3 separate regions of the Homo sapiens genome follow, and regions 2 and 3 are each linked to region 1. The links are contacts of gene promoters, found by promoter capture Hi-C in human tissues and cell types (Jung and others, 2019). All regions are on one chromosome and are shown on one strand. The core of a region is centred on a gene start or on the middle of the fragment in contact, and the rest is flanking DNA. Distances in the headings are between cores, read along the strand shown.

What was found. Contacts are between HindIII fragments. The study calls those that stand out against the background at their distance.
Region 2: a fragment that was not itself captured here is called in contact with the fragment with the promoter of PLD5 in region 1 in 2 of the 25 tissues and cell types used here (aorta and bladder).
Region 3: a fragment that was not itself captured here is called in contact with the fragment with the promoter of PLD5 in region 1 in 2 of the 25 tissues and cell types used here (hippocampus and small bowel).

Annotation. Positions count from the first base shown.
Region 1 is chr1:242,522,848-242,527,654 of GRCh38, forward strand. It overlaps PLD5 (phospholipase D family member 5), which reads right to left and starts at 1,850. Exons shown (of 10, transcript NM_001372062.1): 1 at 1,241-1,850. The coding sequence starts at 1,429. The HindIII fragment of the contact is 9,545 bases long and covers 1-3,985 here.
Region 2 is chr1:242,415,370-242,420,176 of GRCh38, forward strand. All of the region lies in intron 1 of PLD5 (phospholipase D family member 5), which reads right to left. Among named protein-coding and RNA genes, the nearest start is that of PLD5, 110 kb to the right of the region's middle. The HindIII fragment of the contact is 3,828 bases long and covers 426-4,253 here.
Region 3 is chr1:242,441,158-242,445,964 of GRCh38, forward strand. All of the region lies in intron 1 of PLD5 (phospholipase D family member 5), which reads right to left. Among named protein-coding and RNA genes, the nearest start is that of PLD5, 81 kb to the right of the region's middle. The HindIII fragment of the contact is 3,642 bases long and covers 435-4,076 here.

The DNA of each region.
Region 1 (4,807 bases), core at 600-3,099:
TGGCTCTCTACACATAAAATAGTGCTGTTATCCAACTCAAAGCTTCATATTAGAGCTTTCAGTGACTTCATCAGGCCCTCAGAAAGCAGGCACAGACCTTCCTTTCAGATTATTATAATAGAGAAATGCCCCTTCTTCGCGTGTTTCCTCCTGGGAAGAAGCCTGTTGGTGCTGCAGAGCCCAGGAGGAGTGCTTTGGGGGGCAGATGGGAAGCAGGTCGGTGCAGCAGTTGGAAATGCGTGAGTTCCAGGAGTTCTTGGTCTTATCTTTTTTATCATTGTTGGCGTCCTGACCCAAATACAAGGAAACCTCCACATTCCATTAGCAGACTCAATTTGGATTCTGCAGCTCTGCAGGGAGAAATAGCATCTTCTCCTTAGCTAGTTGTGCTGCACTCTTGAGATAATTCTCTTAGTTTAATTTTAACATTTGGTTTAAGAAGATGCTGATGGATCAAATTTGAAACTGTGGATCCACTAAACGCCTTTTTAGAAGGTTTTTTTTTTTTCTTTCAAAATAGCAAGCCTTAGGAGCTCAACTCCAGAGCCAATTCACTTCGCGTGAAGTCGGCACTCCTTGGGAGTAGAGGTCCCCTCTCACCGGCTCCCACCCTCCAGAGGGGAGGATTTCTGGGGAGCCCGACGATCCGCTCGCTTTTAGCCTTTCTCCTTGCAACGCGCAAATCTCTCCCTAGTTGGGCTCAAGTAGAGAGGATCACCAACTGCTCATCCCAGCGGACACTCTGCAAAAAACTCTAATGGCTTGTGCGCGGGTCCACGCTGGTCGCTAGCGGCGCCAACTTTACTCATTCGTTAATTTGCTAGTTTTTGGACTGAGTAAAACAGCCCCCAAAGACGCGGGCAAACGCCGCTCTAAAGCCCACTACCATGCAACGCCAGGTTGCTCGGAGCCACGCTGGTGGCACTTCCCCTTCGTGCTCACTCTGCACAGGCACCTCCAGAACCCCGTGCAAATGAACCCTACCGGGAGACGCAGGTGGGCAGGTCGGGTCGGCAGGGACCAAGAGCCTGAAAGGGAACCTGCCCTCCCCTCCCCGCAGCCCGGTCATTAAGGCAAGAAACTGCAGGCAGAGAAGCCCCCGAATCCGACCTAGGACGTCGGCGCCTGCCAGGATCCCCTCGCCTGCCCCCCGCGCCCCGCGCGCGCTCATGCCACCACCACGGGGAGGGTGCATGCGGCAGGTGCCTGGCCGAGGCCCCCGGGAGCGAGTCGCCCTTACGTGCTCCAGCTTGTCTTTCCTCCGAAGCCAGACGCTGGCGCTGTAGTCCTGCTGCTTGACGCTGCTGTAGAAGTTCGCGCCCACTCGGGTCAGGCTTGGGGAGGGCTCCTTGGGGCGGCTTTTGAGCCTCATCTGCTCGAAGCCCTCATGGGGGGAGGCCGAGAGCCACTCGTGCTGCCGGATCTCCATCCTGACATGACCGGGCGGCCGCCGGCGAGCAGCGGACTCGGGACGGGCGCGCGGGGAGCCGGGCGCGGAGGGCGAGCGGGAGGCCCAGCGGGAGCCGGAGGTGGAGCTGGAGACTGAGCTGGAGGAGCTGGAGGAGCGAGCGGGCGCGGGGAGCGCGGGGTGCTGAGCGCCAGCTGGGAGCGCGGCCGGGCGGGAGGGGGCGATCGCGGGAGGCGCGGGGCGGAAGGAGGGAGGGCGAGGTGCGGGCGGGGGCGGGGGCGGGGGCGGAGGGGGACGGACGGGGAGAAGGGGGACGAGAGGGGACAGGGAGGGAAAGGAACCTGCTCCGGGGAGACAGAAGTGCCCGGTGCGGCGGCGACGTCGCCCGGCGGCTGCGGTCCCGAGCGGGCGCTCCGCTCGCCGGCTCCTTGCGGCACCTACTGGGACCCGGGCCGGCTCCCGGGGCGGCGGCGGCGGCGGGGGTGGGGTGCGGTGGGAGGGGCCGCGGCTGGCCCAGCCAGCCCGCGCCTGCAGGTTGGTGCAGTGAGGAGCCGCCGCCGCCCCTCCCGCCGCGCCCAGGCCCGGGCGGCCGCGCTCCCGCTCCGCACCCGCCTTTCCCGAGCAGGCTACACCTCTCCCTGGCGCATCTTTACTGGAAAGCCGGCAGGCGAGGGGAGAAGTGAGCGCCGTCTCCGCGCCTCCTCGGTCCTGCTGGCTGAGCGCGGGGATGGCTCCGGAGGGAGACACTCAGGAAACCACCTCCGCCCTTCCCCCATCTCTATCCAGCGGCGCCCCCTCACCCTGCCCCCGGCTCGCTTGGGCTGCGCCTTCCCCCATTCTGAAAGTTCACTAACTTCCCACCCCAAGGGACTTAGAGCAGAGGGTGCCCAGCATTCCCCCCTGAAAATAGCCGAGAGACATGTGTTTTCTGGAGCCGTACACGCTACTTTCATCCGATGGTGTGGCGATGCAAATACGCCCGGGGGCAGTAGCCCCTCGGGCAGGCACGCGGGACCGGTTGCTCCCCAGCCCTCGGTGTCCACCTAGAACCGGGCTCCCCGGGCCGCACCCATTCCGATCCTGGGAGGGTGATCCAGGGCTCCTCTGCAACGCTCCGCTTGTGCGGTGACTGTTCCTTAGGTGGACGTGGCCCAACTGCTGTGCATTTGTTTCTTTTCTCTGTTTCTAGGCCCCTAGGGTCCAGGCTTTTCCTTCGGGGCCCAGCCAAGCGTGATGATTATTAGGAATAGGGTGGCTTGTTCGCGATTAAATCTTCAATCTCTTCATCTTTTGCTATCTTTGGAGTCAACCTCTCGAAACATTTTTTGGTTTTATCTAAATGCTAAACAGCTGGTGTTCAGGGTGTCTCGTGTCTGGTTAAAAGCTTGGGAAGTGTATGGAAGCTGGAGAGGTATACAGGGGATTTTAGAGGGTGTTGCCAAGGGTAAACTGAAGGCTCTCTAGCCCTCGGCAGAACTGCCCTACTTGAATGACGGTTTCAAAGACATTCTGGCTGGGATTTCACAAACTTTTAGGAGGACAGGGATTGTGTTTCATATCTTTTCAAAGTCTCCATTTAAAAAAATGGTATAGTAAAAATAGTAGTTGAAATAAAATCCTGTGCACATTCAATATGGGGATGAAACAACTAAACACAAATACACACATTTTGGTTGTGCTAGGTTGGTTTTCTTAGGAGCTGAACTATATTGTGCAATAGATGCCCCGACCTGTGGGCTATCTCTAAGTCTCATGTTATCCTGCAAGATAAATGTTATTAACCCTCCTTTCCAGTGAGGAAAGTGAAGCAGAAGCAGAAATTACACTTCAAAACAAGGATATGAACCAGATTGAAAAGCTGTGAAGGCCAGGCGGAGTGGCTCAGGTTTGTAATCTCAGCCCCTTGGGAGGAGGAGGCAGGAGGATCACTTGATCCCAGGAGTTCCAGACCAGCCTGGGCCTACACTAAAAATAAAATAAATTAGCCAGGCGTGGTGGTGCTCATCTGTGGTTTCAGCTACCTGGGAGGCTGAGGCGGGAGGATCGCTGAAGCCTGGGAAGAGGAGGCAACAGTGAGCCGATATCGCACTGCACCCTGGGCGACAGGGCAAGACCCTGTCGGAGGTGAGGCTGTGAAAACTATACATTCCATTGTATAGCATCTCTGATAATTTTGTTTGTTTGTTTTGTTTTGTTTTTGAGATGGAGTCTCGCTCTGTCACCAGGCTGGAGTGCAGTGGCGCCATCTCGGCTCGCTGCAACCTCCGCCTCCCGGGTTCAAGCGATTCTCCTGCTTCAACCTCCCGAGTAACTGGGACTACAGGTGCACGTCACCACGCCCAGCTAATTTTTGTACTTTTAGTGGAGACGGGGTTTCACCACGTTGGCCAGGCTGGTCTCTCAAGTGATCCGCCAGCCTCGGCGTCCCAAAGTGCTGGGATTACAGGCACGATCTGATTTTTTTATTATTACACTTTGCCCTACTATTCACTGTCCCCCAGTTTTTACTATTAAAGTTTAGCCTCCATAGCTTATGCTTTCTTTAAAGTATAACCACACAATTTAAATGACGACAAACAATTATACAGTCTTTTATAATATTGTTAACAGAAAGATGTTATTGCCCTTCTGCAAAGAATACCTCTGCCTTTTGCTGTATGAGATTAGGTATTTGATATAGCCAAACCTTGACAAGTGATAGATATCCAATTCAGAGTAATAATGAACTGTTCTACCATAGAAGAATTTAAACAAATGGTTTCCATATTGTGCCAGATTCTCAAAGTAAATAGATTTTTTTTAAACTATACCTTTATAGGACTATACATAGTGACTGCAGTAGTTGCTACTATCTCCTTCTTTTTTTTTTTTTTTTTTTTTTTTTTTTTTTTTTGAGATGGAGTCTTGCTCTCTCACCCAGGCTGGAGTGCGGTGGTTCCATCTCGGCTCACTGCAATCCCCACCTCCCAGGTTCAAGCAATTCTCATGCCTCAGCCTCCCAAGTTGCTGGAATTATAGGCATGCACTATCACACCCGGCTAATTTTTGTTATTTATTTTTAGTAAAGGCAGGGTTTCACCATGTAGCCCAGGCTGGTCTCAAACTCCTGACCTCAAGTGACCTGCCCGCCTCGGCCTCCCAAAGTATTGGGATTACAGGCGTGAGCCACCGCGCCCGGCCAATCTCTATTTTTTGAAGAAGGTACACTGGTGGCATAAATATGACAGCATACTACTGAATTGAGCATTATAATTAATTCATAGATCACATTTGTTATGATCAAAAATACTAGTCAAAATATAAATTTTTACAGTTTCATACTTACTTGGTATGCAGTGCCAGACTCAATGAACCCAACAAGTTCAAATAAACCTGGGCGCAGACTTATTCATAATTATT
Region 2 (4,807 bases), core at 1,090-3,589, 110 kb before region 1:
TACGGAACATTCATAGAGAGGATGTACCTACCCCTTAATCAAAATAATTCACCATGCATTCATTGGCCTCCCCATTCCATCAAACATCAGTCAACAATTGCAAAAAGCTAACAAAAAACAACAGAAGAATAAGCCATAAAGATTTTTTTTTTTTTTTTTTTGAGACAGAGTCTTGCTCTGTCGCCCAGGCTGGAGTGCAGTGGCGAGATCTCGGTTCACTGCAAGCTCCACCTCCCGGGTTCACACCATTCTCCTGCCTCAGCCTCCTGAGTAGCTGGGACTACAGGCACCCGCCACCACGCCCGGCCAAATTTTTTGTATTTTTAGTAGAGACGGGGTTTCACCATGTTAGCCAGGATGGTCTTGATCTCCTGACCTCGTGATCTGCCTCGGCTTCCCAAAGTGCTGGGATTACAGGCATGAGCCACTGCGCTGGGCCAAGATTTTTTTAAGTGGTTACCTAAGGAAAGTTCTAGAATGAAATGGTCAAGAATGGAAGCTAGACTTCTGTGAAAGTATCTTGTTTAGTGGATTTGACTTATTTACATTAATTATAAAGCAAAATTATTTTTGTAAAAAGCAACACCTAAAAATTTAACATAAACCAAAACAAATTAACCTAAATGTGTATGTACTTGTATTATTACACTCAGAAGAACTGATGTTAAAATGATGTGTTGAAACTCTTAAACTTTCAGTAACTGTATTGTTGGTGGCAGTATTGGCTACTGTTTTCTAAGATCAGTTCAGGTGTCTTGGTGGGGTTGAGCAAAAAAAAATTATGTAATATTCTAAATATATAATTTTCATTGTTGTTGAGGACTAGGATTCTCAGTATGGGAAAAAGAAAATAGAAGATAATCAGAAAAGCTATAAAGGAAATTAGGTTGGCCATACATTGATAAATTTGGAAGCTACATTATGGATTCATGAAGGTTGTATTATACTCTTCTACATACTTTTATGTTTGAAATTTTCTATGTCAAATGTTAAAAAAGAAAAGGAAAGGATTACCACTAGTGTAGGAAGTATAATTTCCTACAGGTGTCTTAAGAGAAGGATTCAGTATGTTACATGACACAGAATATGCAAATATAACCCTTCCAGAAGAAGCCTAGGATCTCTTAGTTTTATGAATCTATAATCAGTAGTTTTGGAGCTGCAAGAATTCAACAAATTCAGTTAGTAACATGAAATTTAAAGGATGGCAAAATAAATATAATTACCCTATTTGAAGTCGTTACCTCACCTTCTGCTAAAAAAGAGCAACTTCTTGACTTCCTGGCCATTGGTCGACAGCCCTGGAAACATTTTCAGCTAAATTAAACTCATTAAAAACCAAAACAAATAAAATCTTGTTTCTTTGGATGAAAGCAAAAATTCCTATTTGTGAACAAAGGCATTGATTCAATAGATTCCCCTGGTAACTTCCTTGGTGAACAGTTTGCTCTTGATGCCAAAAAGTCAGCCTCATAAATATGTGCCAACTCTGATGCCAATGCAGCATTCACATACATTCTTTCATCCATTCAGTAAACATTTATTGGAGCCCCTGTTGTACACAGACAATGTTTATACAGCAGTGATCACAACAAATATTTCTGCACCCTTCTTGTGAAAGATGGAAAGGGTAGTTAAAAAAAATCTATAAAATATATAATATTTCAGATGGCTGTAAGTGTAGCCCAAAAGAGTTATAATTTTAAAGGATGGCCAGGGAAAGTTCACCAAGAGGTAGCCCATGTGTAAAAACCTGCAAGTAATGATCTGAAGCAGGTGAGGAAGTTAGCTATGGGGTTAATCTGGGGGAAGAAGATTCCAGGCAGACGGAAGAACAAGCTATAAAGAGGTAGGAGGTGGGACTAAACTCAGGGGGCAAGACTCAACTGCAGAGGCAGGGCTTGGACACTGGACCAAATTGAGGACTAGTTAAAACAGGGATAGGGTGGAAGCATCTTTCCATAAAACACCCGCCAGTGTTCCATGTCAGTTTACCATTGCCATGGCAACACCCTGAAGTTACCACCCTTTTCCATGGCAACAATCTCACAACCCAGAAATTACCACCCTTGTTCTAGAAATTTCTGCATAATCTCCCCTTAGTTTGCATGTAATTAAAAGTGGATATAAATATGGCTGCAGAACTGCCTCTGAGCTGCTACACTAAGCACACTGTGTGTGGGGTAGCCCTGCTCCACAAGGAGCAGTACCTATGCTGTTGCTGTTCACTGGTGCTTCAGTAAAAGTTGCTCTCTAACATTACCAGCATGCCCTTGAATTCCTTCCTGGATGAGGTCAAGAGCCCTCCAGGGCTAAGCCCCCGTTATGGGGCTTGCTTCCCTGCATCAATAGGTCCTGCTGTGGGAATGTTCTTGGCATTTTTGTGGAAGAAAGAGGCCAGTACGGGGGATGGTGGTATGGGATAGAGCAAGGAGGGAGGTGATATGGGATAGAGCAAGGGAGTGGCAGGGAAGGATCACCAAGGCAGTAAGAGGCTCCTGCAGGACCTTGTAGGCCATTGCAAGCTTTACCCCAAGTGAAATGGAAAACCAAATGCTAAAGGAAGAACCACCAGCTAAGAGTGAGTGATGTCATGTAGTTATCACTCTAAAGGACACTTAGGCTGCTGTGTTGAGAATAACCTGGAAAGACAAGGGCAGAACCAGAAAGCTTTTGCCACAATCCAGGGGAGAAACATAATGTAGTTTAAACTAGGATGTTGCATTAGAAGAGGTGAAAAATGGCCAGATTCTGAATATATTTTGGAAATAGATCCTATAGTATTTATTTACAGACTTGGATCTGAAATCTGAGAGGACAAACAGAGTCAAGAAAAACCCTAAGGTTTTTAGCCTGAGCAACTGGAAGGATAGACTTCCCATTAATGAGAAGAGAATTATTGCAGGAGAACCTAATTTTAGAGGGGAAGGTCAGGAGTTTTGATCTGGTTGTGTTAGGCTTGAGATGCCCATTGGACATACAAAGTAAGCATCAAACGAATAGACAATTGGATGTGTGTCTGAAGCTCAGGGGCAAGGTCTAAGCTAAAGGTAATAAATGTTGGAGTTGTCAGTGTGTACATGGTATTTACAGGGAGGTGTTTGGGTGGGATCATCAAAAGAAGTGCCCCAGGTCACTTCAATAGTCAGACATCAGCACTACGAGGTAAAATCAGCAAAGGAGACCACAGCAAAGTCAGGAGAATGGGGAGTCTTGGAAACTCCGCAAAAAAAAGTGCTTCTGGGAAGAGGGGCTGACCTAGTGTATCAGTTCAAATGCTGCTGGTAGATTAAGTGAAGTGGCAACTGAGAACGTGTGGGCTTTCTTGCACTCAATTTATTCACACAATTTCATCACCGAATTGAGCATGATACTCTTAAATGTCCACACCACATCATACCCCATAGTGTGCTCCTTCCAGCAACACTTCTGCTGTTTCTGAAATTATGGACACGTGTTCTTGACTAAGGGTCCAGAGAATAGGTTTCCTTCATCCTAGAGTCATGTGGCAATGCCAGCACCAAATGGAATAGTAATCTCCAAATAAAAAAGATTCACTGTGATCTACGTATTATCTAAGAACCAATATTTTAGTTCCCTGGCTGGAGCTAGGAGCAGTTCCTTGTTCTTCTAAATAAGTGGGACTTCACACAGAGACATTGGGTCAAGTAGCATGAATAATGCTTAGAAAAGCTTTAATGCTACCTCCTGTGATCCTCCTAAGACACAGGCAGGAAAAAAAAATGATGATCTGTAACCAAAGAGGGTGGTTAGACCCTCACGCCTCCAGGCGGGTGTGGCTCATGCTCAGTGTGGAGATGAGATGGGCGCCTGGGTGGCGTGTTCTTACAGCCTGCGTGACGTTTCTCATGCCATCAGGGAAGGCAGACACTTCCCTCAGTGGGTGGCAGAGGACACAAAAGTCATGGCAAAGACTCGTCGCATGACTTGTAGTTTCAAGCTGTTCCATGAATACAGCCATCTTATAGTGCAAGCTGAGTGCAGTCCTGATTTTTGTTTTTTTTTTTTTTTTTTTGGCGGGGGGAGACAGAGTCTCGCACTGTTGCCCAGGCTGGAGTGCAATGGTGCGATCTCAGCTCATGGCAACCTCCACCTCCCGGGTTCACACAATTCTCCTGCCTCAGCCTCCTGAGTAGCTGGGACTACAGGCGCACACCACTACACCCGGCTAAATTTTTTGCATTTTTTTTTTTTTTTTTTTTTTAGTAGAAACAGGGTTTCACTATGTTGGTCAGATTGGTCTCAAACTCCTGATCTCATGATCTGCCCGCCTCGGCCTCCCGAAGTGCTGGGATTACAGGCGTGAGCCACCATGCCCGGCCATCCTGAATTTTATTGCCAGCAAGGAGAAGTAAAGGTCTAGGGCTACCCAAGAATGAAGTAGTTCACCAGCCTTTTAAAAATAGATTGAAAAGTCAACCACATTCTTATGTTTCAAACACAGCTTTGGTGCCACAACTCACACCACTGTATGAGACTTGAATTCTATCAGCCAGCTTTTAATCCAAGGCTGCTAGCTTCCAACTACTTTAAGGGATGTTCTGATGATAAAAGTCAGTCCCAGTAAAAACAGGTATTTGATTAGGGAGCTTGAGACCCAGAAATAAGACTATACCAGGAACTCTCACAAAATTCTTCGATAAACTTGTTACCTCCAGGGCTCCTGATTCTTGCTGTAGAAGGAGCACTTCTATCTCAATTGCAAATAATACCATCTCCTATGGAGCACTTACAATGAGCCAGGCACCATTCCAAATGGTTTATGTACATGATCTTATTAATACTC
Region 3 (4,807 bases), core at 1,006-3,505, 81 kb before region 1:
TGGTGCTAGCCATCAAGAGTATAATAGGATGCTAGTATAAATGATAACATAATTTAAAATAGTAGTAAGTGCTATGAAGCAAAATGCAGGATACTATGAGTATATAATTGATGAAAGATTTAACCTACTGCCATTAGTAAAAATGCTGTGTATGGTATGTTTTTAGTAGGTGTGTGTGGTGTTGTGTGTGTGTATGAAAAAGGCTAGATTATAAATATCTCTATATAAAACCAACAGTTATTAGCCCTAAATTATTTCACTTTTCTTTTCACCATGTTATGAATCTTCCGAAATTACCATGTGTTTCTTTAGTAGTCATAAAAAAACTTTAAAAAAAAATTAATTTGGCTTACTAAGCTTATCTTAGTTTCCTCAGTTATAAGTCAGATTTAGAGTTATCAGCCCTTTTTCATCTTCCCTTAAGATGAAATAAGAATTTATATTTCCTGACTTTAGAGTGCATAAGGATATATATTACTTTTGCACATTTTAAAGTAACAGTAATAGAAAGCTTTGGGGAAAAGGAGTCAGACAGACACCCCTCTTCCCGAGGAACACAGTGGGCCATCCTAGGCAGGGGAGCCACCGAGCCCACCTTCTGCGAGAGCCCAAGAGGTCTCACCATTGTACTTGGCAACTCTTCAAAATGGATCCTCTGCCAAAGTTGAAGCATCAGTTATATCTCAATGTGGAAGACCCAGAAAGGCTATTACGTTATTTCTGATTAAACTTATTCCTTACAAAGATAAACAGAAAGTTAACTGACATATTTTTAATCTTTGCTATTGATAATTTATCTCTGCTATTTGCAGCTGTTTCCAGTACATTGAGTAGCTCAGCTGTAAGCTTCTGTATAAAGCAAAGAGTGAAGCATTCTCTCTGCCACCTCTCGCTGACAACTTAAGAGCACCTCTCATGGGAGCACAGAACTCTTCCCCACAAAGGGCACAAAGTGTCTAGGGCATGGACTCGGTTGCCCAGTGATTTAAAAAATACCTTGGCCGATGCCCATCATGAGACATTCCAAAGGCATGTCCAAAGACATTCTAAAGTACCAGAGTTCCTTAAAAAATGCTTATATGTTTTTTTGTAAACTTCACATACTCATTGTCATGAAAAACTCTATTTAAATAAGAATAAAAACAACTGAGAAGTTCTAAAACATCTCTCAAATTCCGCCACTGCTAGTAGTGTGGTGAGCATGTGCCTCAAGATTTCCATCTACGTGCAGCATCCAGGTATTACGTCCACTTTATCCATGGCGGCACTGTTACATAAATGGGATTATTCGCTTCTTTTTTAAAACAAAAAATAAAGAAGGGTATTTAAAGCTTAAAAATAAGCAGATCTTGATTAGGAATTCTAAATCAGGATCATGAGACGCCACATGATGGCTTGGGGAACCAGTGATGTTTTATTCTTTGAGCGGGGTGCTAATTACAAGATTGTGTTCATTTTGCAAAAATGTGAGCTGTACATCTATGATTTGTGCACTTTTTCAGTTTTTATGTTATCTTAAAGTTTTTTAACTTAAAAACCCGATTAAGTAAATCGACACTCCATACAAAGAAGAGACGCAGGGAAAGGAAACACTTATAATCCTAAACTAGTAAAGTCAATTTGTATGCAGTATTTAATTTTCAGTATCTTAAGAAATTAATCCGTTATTTGTTCATGCACTTTCACACAAATTTGAGAGGCAGTTCTTCTAAGTCCTAGATTGGATAAACGGGTATTCCTTATCCATCAGTGATTTTAAACTTAAGTCGTAAACACAGTTCTGCAAGGAATCTCCATGCCGAATCAACAAAAACTGGGGAAGTCCTAGGTGTAGCAACATTGCAATATAGCCTGCCCTTGCTATGACAGAACATGTAAGCTAACAAGCTATACATTCTATGAACTTATTAAATCAGCCAAAGTGTCCATCAGAAATATTAAATCCTATGGACAAGGCTGAAGTTAGTTAAAAAGTGAGATTTAAGTATATACAGATGTGATTCCCCCCTTTTCCCTATCAGGTATTTTATCTATCTCTTAAGACACTTTTATATATTAAATATATTTTATATTTTGTTTTTACTATTGAAAACAAAATAAGCACAGTGGTAAAATAAAAGAGGAAATTAATCAAGCACTTTTGCAACACAAGCTATAAATCCAAACATGGCAAATTTCAGAATGCAAACAACAAATTTCTCCAAATAGATATGCTCTCCTTATATCTATGTGTAATACAGGGAGGGCCACATCAAGGAAGGTGAACTGGTTGGTGGGTCTTAGGGAGTCTGGGCACTTCATAGAGCCAGTAAGCAGATGCCCAGAGCTGAGTCCTTAGGTGTCCAGGATGTGAACTGGGAAGATTATCCACCTACTCCTTGGATGGCTAAATCCAAGGAGTAAGATGGGAAGTTAGAGATGAAGTACAAAGGCAAAAAGTAATGAATGAGGAGTGTTGAAACAAGTAAATGGAAAGGAAGGAAGAGTGAACGTAAACTGTATCATAGCTTAACCTGAAGCACCTAAGAAAGTTTTGCTATTATTCTTGAGTCCACATTTATAGGAGGGCATTTAAAGTTGCAGTCAAGGCTATCAACATGAACCACACCACTTCTTTTGTAATCCTATGAGCATCTCTCCAGAGACTTCCTCCATCTCAAACCTATTTAATTTCTAGGCAATGCAGCTAATTAGCTTATTTATCCTAGGACTTCCATTTATTGCATTGATTTTACCATCAACATCAGACTTAATAGGCCACCACATCAATGGTATTTTCTCTAGCATCCCATGTATGGTGGCTTCTGTGTCTTCTCACCTAATGGGACCTGTGCAGCATCCATCATGAATCATCAGTATCCAGGAGGCTCAACAATAGGATAAAAATTTGAACAGAACTCATATTTGCTTATTTTAAGCTTTGCACTTCCTGTAGCCCATCAAGAGTAATTCCTTCCTATAAGACCACAGCAAAATGAATGAGATTACTCATCTTCATTATATTGTTGGTATGTGTAATTCATAATTTCTAATGCTCTTGACACCATCTTCAAGGAGAAACTCAAAGCCAACCAACACATTCAATTTCCCAAAAACTTGTCACCACAATACTTCTTTTTCCAATAAATAGCATCTTAGATCCACCCTATTAATAAAATCACTCATACCTTTATTCTATGTGCTTTAGTTTTCAAGTACCGGAGAAGAGGGAGGTATTTTGTATGCACTCATTCTCCTCCACATATTTCTATTCATTTGATCAATGTGGTTACAGGTTATCAATGATCAAGAAAATGGCACTGTAGCCATTAGTAATTTCTAACTATATCTAATTTGTCCTCACTCATTACCTTCAAGCTTCTGAAACCTGTGGACATAGGAATATAGGTGCATGTAACCTCCTCTGATCCTCTAGATCCATCTTCTCCTCAGGAACATAATCAAAAGCCTACTTTATACAAATAATATATATATTATATATTTATATAAAATATAAATATTTAATTATACTATACATAATATAAATATTTATATTATATAAATATTATATTATATAATAAAATAATATATATATTATTTGTATAAAGTAGGCTATATATATAATATATATTTCTCCTAGGACACACCACATTGTCACTCACTTCTAAACACCTCATTGGACTTTGGGAACAGGCCATAGGACTCATCTCATACAGTTATTGACATGTGATATATATTAAAGAGATGAGACCTATAGCCTGTTACTCAAAGTCCAATAGATAACATAAGTCACATATAGCTATGTGTTATATGCTCTACTATATAGACCCTCAGCTTTTCTCTTAAGTTATGCCTTTATTCATTCAACACCATATAAAACCTACTATGTGAAAGGCACTGCTGTGGTGTGAATATTTGTTTCTCCCACCTCCCAAACTCATTTGTTGAACCCTAATCCCCAGTGTGATAGTATTAGAAGGTAGGGCATGTGGAAGGTGATGAGGTCTTGAAGGCTCCGCCATCACTAATCAGATTAGTGCCCTTATAAAAGAGACACCAGAGAGCTATCGAGCTCATTCTACTGTGTGAACACACAGCGAGAAGGCATCATCTATTAAGCAGAGAGTTGGCCCTCACCAGACACCAAATCTGCTAAAACCCTGATCTTGGATTTCCCAGTCTCTATAAGGAATTAATTTCTGTTGTTTGTTTGTTTGCTTTTTGAGACAGAGTCTTGCTCTGTCCTCCAGGCTGGAGTGCAGTGGTACAATCTCAGTTCACTGCAACCTCTGCCTCCTGGGTTCAAGTGATTCTCCTGCCTCAGCCTCCCGAGTAGCTGTGATTACAGGTGCCCACCACCACACTGAGCTAATTTTTGTATTTTTATTAGAGACGGGGTTTCACCATGTTGGCCAGGCTGGTCTCAAACTCCTGACCTCAGGCCATCCACCCGCCTCGGCCTCCCAAAGTGCTGAGATTACAGGCATGAGCCACCGCGCCTGGCAAATTTCTGTTGCTTTTCTGTTATCCAGTCTGATGTATTTTGTTAGAGCAGCCTGAACAGACTAAGACAGGTGGCATGCCAGGTAATGTAAGAATTACAGTGAGGGGGTTTTATTCACTTCTTTTTTTTTTTTTTTTCAAGCTGCTTGCTTCAAATGCCAGGGTCATTTGCTTTACTCTTCCACATTTCACCTCCAATCAGTGGCCAGGGCAGGTGGATTTTCTTTCACATCATCTCCTGCTTTATTTTCCATTTTCTCTCTACCATTCTAATTTAAATCCATATCATCTTTTACCTAGATAATTTTTAAAGCTTCCTTCTAAT